2 separate regions of the Homo sapiens genome follow, and region 1 is linked to region 2. Evidence: promoter capture Hi-C in human tissues and cell types (Jung and others, 2019). All regions are on one chromosome and are shown on one strand. Each heading gives the region's core, a stretch centred on a gene start or on the middle of the fragment in contact. The rest is flanking DNA. Distances are from core to core; before and after follow the strand shown. Region 1 has its middle 5.1 kb from the start of LINC01659. Region 2 holds the start of C22orf15 (chromosome 22 open reading frame 15).

Region 1 (2,700 bases), core at 159-2,658, 320 kb after region 2:
CAGGCATGAGCCACTGCGCCTGGCTGACCAGAGGTCATTTTCATGGCTGTCTTGGTTTTGGTGGGTTTGGGGCCAGCTTCTTTACTGCAACCTGTTTTATCAGCCAAGTCTTTGTGACTTGCATCTTGTGCGGACCTCCTATCTCATCTTGTGACTATGAACGCCTAACCTTCTGGGAAAGCAGTCCTGTAGGTCTCAGTCTTATTTCACCCAGTCCTTATTCAAAATGGAGTCACTCTGGTTCAAATGCCTCTGATACCCGCACATTGAAAATGAGAACACATTGCTGAGAGAAACTGTTCATAGATTAGAAGTTTCCATATCATTAAGATGTCAATTATCCCCAAAATGATCTATAGAGTCAGCATAATTCCAATTAAAATCCTAGCAGGCTGACAAAGATGCAAAAGGCTATTCAGTAAAAAAGAATGATCTTGATACTGGAGTAACTGGACGTTCATATGCAATAAAAAATGAAAAAGAGTCAATCCAGACCTTGCACCATATAAAAAAAAACTCAAAATGGATCATGAACACAAATGTAAAATTTAGAACTATAAAACTTCTAGAAGAAAAAAAATGGAGGCAGTCTTTGTGACCTTGGGTTAGGTAAAGATTTCTTAGATACGACAGCAAAAGCACACTCTATAAAATAAAAGACGGGTAAGTTAGACTTAATCAAAATTAAAAATGTCTGCTCTTCAAAAGACATTGTTAAGAGAATGAAAAAACATGTCATATATAAGGAGAGAACACCAGCAATGTACATATTTGATGAAGGATTTGCATCTGGAGTATACAAAGAACTCTCAAAACTCATTAAGGAAACATAGAACCCCATAAATAATTAGCAGAAGATGTGAACAGGCACTTCAGCGAAGACCAGCAAGTTGGCACAGGTACAGATGCTCAGTGTCATTCGTCATGAGGAAAATGCAAATTAAAACCACAATGAGACGCCATCAGTCACCTCTTAGAAGGACTGAAATTAAAAAGACTGATCATGTCAAGTACTGGTGACCGTGTGGAGAAACTACAAGTCTCCTATACTGCTGATAGGAATGGAAAATGGTGCAGGCACTTTGGAAAACAGCTTGGCAACTTCTTGTAAAGTTAAGCATGCACCGACCACACAATCAAGCAGTTCCACTCCGATTTAGCCAAGAGAAAAGAAATAAATGTCCGTGCAAAGCTTGCATGTGAATGTTCACTGTACACTTTATTTGCAACAGCCCCAAGCTGGAAGCCACCGGAATGCCCGTCAACATCTGGATGGATGAAGACACTGTGGTCTATCTGTATGACTGTAAAGGGATAAACTGTTGATACCACAGCAACATGGATAAATCTCAAACTAACTACGCTTAGTGGAAGAAGCCAGACGAGAAAGGCTAGATACTGCGTGATTCCACTTACAGAAACTCTAGAAAACATGGATGAACCCGTGGTGACAGGAAACACAGAAGGATCAGTGGCTGCTTGGGGTCGGGTTGCAGTGGGAGGGGCAAGGCAGGCTGCACAGGGCCTGGGATCTGGGGGCGAAGGGTCTGTTCACTGCCTTGACGGCCTCACGGGTGCGTGTATATAGACGATGACTCATCAATAACGCAGACTCAGCAAACAGGGAAGCCCTGGCAGGAGGAGGTGGTGGCATCGGGGCAGGTCCAGCTATCACAGGCCAGCCTGGTGAAACACGGCAGTGGGCTACTTCTCCAGACAAAACTGCTCCCTCTTGGGTGTCTAGAGGCGATTCCTGCGTAGCTCTGCCTGGACTGGGAAACATATTCCTAACCCCGTGCAGGGGCTGCAGTCCCTCTACCCGAAACCCACGCCAACACCCACTTCACATTTTGCATTTGAATCTCAGGAGGTTCACGGACCCTGTAACCCAGCGGCACCCGCAGCCCCTGGGATGGAAAAGCATCATAAAAGCAGACAGTGGCGCGTGTTGGGGAGGACGGGGAGAACCTGGGAGAAGAGGCAGCTCCTTACAAAGCTCAACGTTAAATTACCACGTGACCCCGGCACTTCCTCTTATGGGTGTACACCCGAGAGAAACAAAAATGCATTTCCACACACAAGCTTGTACACGAATGTTCACAGCGGCACTGTGTGTAATAGCCCTAAACGGAAGCAATTCAAATGTTCTATCAATGGATGAACGGATAAACAACATGGTCTATCCACACACTAGACTGTATGATTCATCAGTAACAAATGGAGCGTCAGCACGTGGTCCAATGTGAGCGAACCGTGAAAACCTTACGTTCAGTGAAAGACGCCAGACGCCAGAGACCACTCATCGCTGAGCCCATCTCCCTGCAACACTGCCGGTAGGGGAGTCTAGAGACAGAACACAGACAGTGGCTGCCGATGGCTGGGAGGGGATGGCTATGGGGCACGTTTCCTTCCAGGGTGATAAAGGCATTCATTCCAAGATAGACTGTGATGATGGCTGCACGCTCTGTAGATGACATCTCAATCAAGCTGCTTCATGAGAAAGGCCCAGCCACTGACCACGGGGTGAACGTCCTGCCGTCCACAGTCCCTGGCCGAGAAGAAAGTATGACTGACAGGTAAGACTACCTAAAGTCCCAGGCACACCCTGGGGCGGGGAGGAGGCTGGGGACAAGGACAGAGTGTGCAAAGACACGCCGGGCTCTGGGAGGTCAGCAGAGAGTCTGGACCCCAGATTTGAGG
Region 2 (2,700 bases), core at 159-2,658:
TGATGATCCGAACGAGGACATATATGGCTCGCTCCTTCAGTAGGGAGTTGCCCATGGTCTGGGCCCGGGAAGCCCCTTCCTTCAGGTCCTCCTCCAGGCTCACTAGGTTGCCATCCTCAGCCAGGAGAGCAATGGTCGCTGGGAGGACATGGAGAGAGACTGGGCAGGGCTGGCACCCCTGCCTGGGACCCCTCAGCCCCTCCTTCTCCTCCCTGTCTCCTCACCATCTGGGGGCAACCCTGCTTTCTGCCTCAGGTGGGCGGTGAGGTTCACCAGCCTGCAAGAGGTGTTCACCAGCACCGAGCAGCCAGCTGTGGAGAGGGGCAAAGGTGAGCCTGTGAGATCTCTTACCTTCCTCCAAATCGGGGTCCTCTGTCTCTCCCTCCCATCTCTCCCTTTCCCAGAGCTGCGACTGGGCCTATGGGCTAAGACTGTGCCCCGGGCATAACAGCTCCAACATCTGTTGCTTAAACTGCCTTGGAGAACCCTCCATCCATCTCCCATGTGTGGTGACTTTTCTCCCATGTGTGGTGACTCCCAAGTGTTGGTCTCTTGAGTCCTGCAAAGCACGAAGTGGGCGCCAGCCCAGCCTCCTCCCGGGACCCGCCCCCACGGGACCCAGCCAGTCCCCGCCCTCCGCACCCACCGGCTCCTCTCTTCCCTTCCGCTACCGCACAGGGCCGACCCGCCTCCAGCCAGAGGCACGGGGACCCTGCAACTGTGGCTAGAGTTTCAGGTGTCTGATGCACGCTGAAGCTTGAGGATCACGGATTGAATGGCGAAGAGATTGTGCGGCTTAAAAACCTGCTCCAGGGTAATGCGGCGGTCTCTGGCCGAGAGGAACCCTTGTGAATGAGCAGGACTCAGCTCGGGTTTTCCCTTTAAGGGACTCGCTCCAGGTGCTGGCTTCGCCTCCTCACAGAGCCGCTTCCCCGACGACCCCCGCCATGTGCACCACCCCCCTTTCCCGCCATTGCCTCCCCACCCACCGCAAGGGCGGAAGGAAGCACGCCTCTGAGTGTGCTCATCCCCCTATCCGCCTACCAAGACAGGGGACCCCACTTACCCCCAAACATCACCTTGATAAACATAGCTGCAGCGGGTGAGGGAGATGTGGGGGGCTTTGATCCCCCAACTCTCGATTCCCCAACTAAGGAAAAGCGTGGAGCAGAGACCTGCTTCAGGGCCGGGCTCTGGAGGGAGAAGTGGATGTGTGAGTGTGGATGGCTGGGTCCCAGGGCCAGGCCCCTGCTCAGCCACCTCTGTGGTTCTGCTGCTTCAGCCTAGCTCAAACCCTGCAGCTAGTCCAAGACTCCTGGCCTCCTCTTCCTCCCCACTGAGCCCTGGGCCACAGCAGCTCCCCTAAGCTTCCAAGCTGGTCTCCATGGCAGTGGGGGCGGAGACATCTAGGCAGGAAATGCCTTCCTCCCTGTATCCGTTAACGGGGCCCATGGGGGAGAGGTGACAGAAGAAGTGGGGGCTGGCATTCCCTGAGGCGGGGAATGCCATCATTGGGATTGATTTTTTTTAGAGACAGTCTCCCTATGTTGCCCAGGCTGGTCTCGAACTTGGCTCAAGCAATTCTCCAGCCCCAGCCTCCCACAAGTGCTGGGATTGCAGTTGTGAACCACTTGTACAGTAAAGTTCACCCTTTCTGGTGTTTTAAAGTTATGCCAACTCTCATATAACCACCACCACAGTCAAGATACAGAACATTTCCATCACCCCCAAATTCCTTTGCCCCCTTTGTACTCAGCCCTAGTCGCTTCCAGGTCCATAGCAGGTCACAAGCACCTCCTTGTTAGCACTGGCCACTAGCTAGTCCCTCACACCGGTTCTCACCGTCATTTCCTGTCTTTTATTTATTTATTTATTAAGTTTATTAATTATTATTATTATTGGTGTTTTTTAAATTTTTATTTTTTGAGATGGAGTCTCCCTGTCACCCAGGCTAGAATGCAGTGGTACGATCTCGGCTCACTGCAACCTCCGCCTCCCGAGTTCAAGCGATTCTCCTGCCTCAGCCTCCCAAGTAACTGGGACTACAGGTGTGCACCACTACACCTGGCTAGTTTTTTTTTTTTTTTTTTTTTTTTTTGAGACGGAGTCTCGCTCCCTCGCCCAGGCTGGAGTGCAGTGGTGTGACCTCGGCTCACTGCAAGCTCCGCCTCCCGGGTTCACGCCTTTCTCCTGCCTCAGCCTCCTGAGTAGCTGGGACTACAGTCGCTCGCCACCACGCCCAGCTAATTTTTTTTGTATTTTTAGTACAGACGGGGTTTCACCATGTTAGCCAGGACGGTCTCAATCTCCTGACCTCGTGATCTGCCCGCCTCGGCCTCCCAAAGTGCTGGGATTACAGGATTACAGGCGTGAGCCACTGCGCCCGGCCTTTTTTTGTATTTTTAATAGAGATGGAGTTTCACCATATTGGTCAGATTGGTCTCGAACTCCTGACCTCAAATGATCCGCCCATCTTGGCCTCCCAAAGTGCTGAGCCACCAAGCCTGACCTATTTATTTTTTTTTGAGAATGAGTCTCGCTCTGTCAGCCATGCTGCAGTGCAGTGGCGCAATCTCGGCTCACTGCAACCTCCGCCTCTCGGGTTCAAGCGATTCTCCTGCCTCAGCCTCCGGAGTAGCTGGTATTACAGGCGCCAGCCACCACCCCTGGCTAATTTTTTGTATTTTTAGTAGACATAAG

The links. Contacts are between HindIII fragments. The study calls those that stand out against the background at their distance.
Region 1: a contact is called between a fragment that was not itself captured here and the fragment with the promoter of C22orf15 in region 2, in 3 of the 25 tissues and cell types used here (H1 embryonic stem cells, mesenchymal stem cells and small bowel).

What each region holds. Positions count from the first base shown.
Region 1 is chr22:23,437,308-23,440,007 of GRCh38, reverse strand. No RefSeq gene overlaps it. Among named protein-coding and RNA genes, the nearest start is that of LINC01659, 5.1 kb to the right of the region's middle. The HindIII fragment of the contact is 4,366 bases long and covers 1-2,700 here.
Region 2 is chr22:23,761,698-23,764,397 of GRCh38, reverse strand. C22orf15 (chromosome 22 open reading frame 15) reads right to left here and starts at 1,408. Exons shown (of 6, transcript NM_182520.3): 1 at 1,067-1,408; 2 at 225-311; 3 at 1-138. The coding sequence starts at 1,091. The HindIII fragment of the contact is 4,822 bases long and covers 1,063-2,700 here.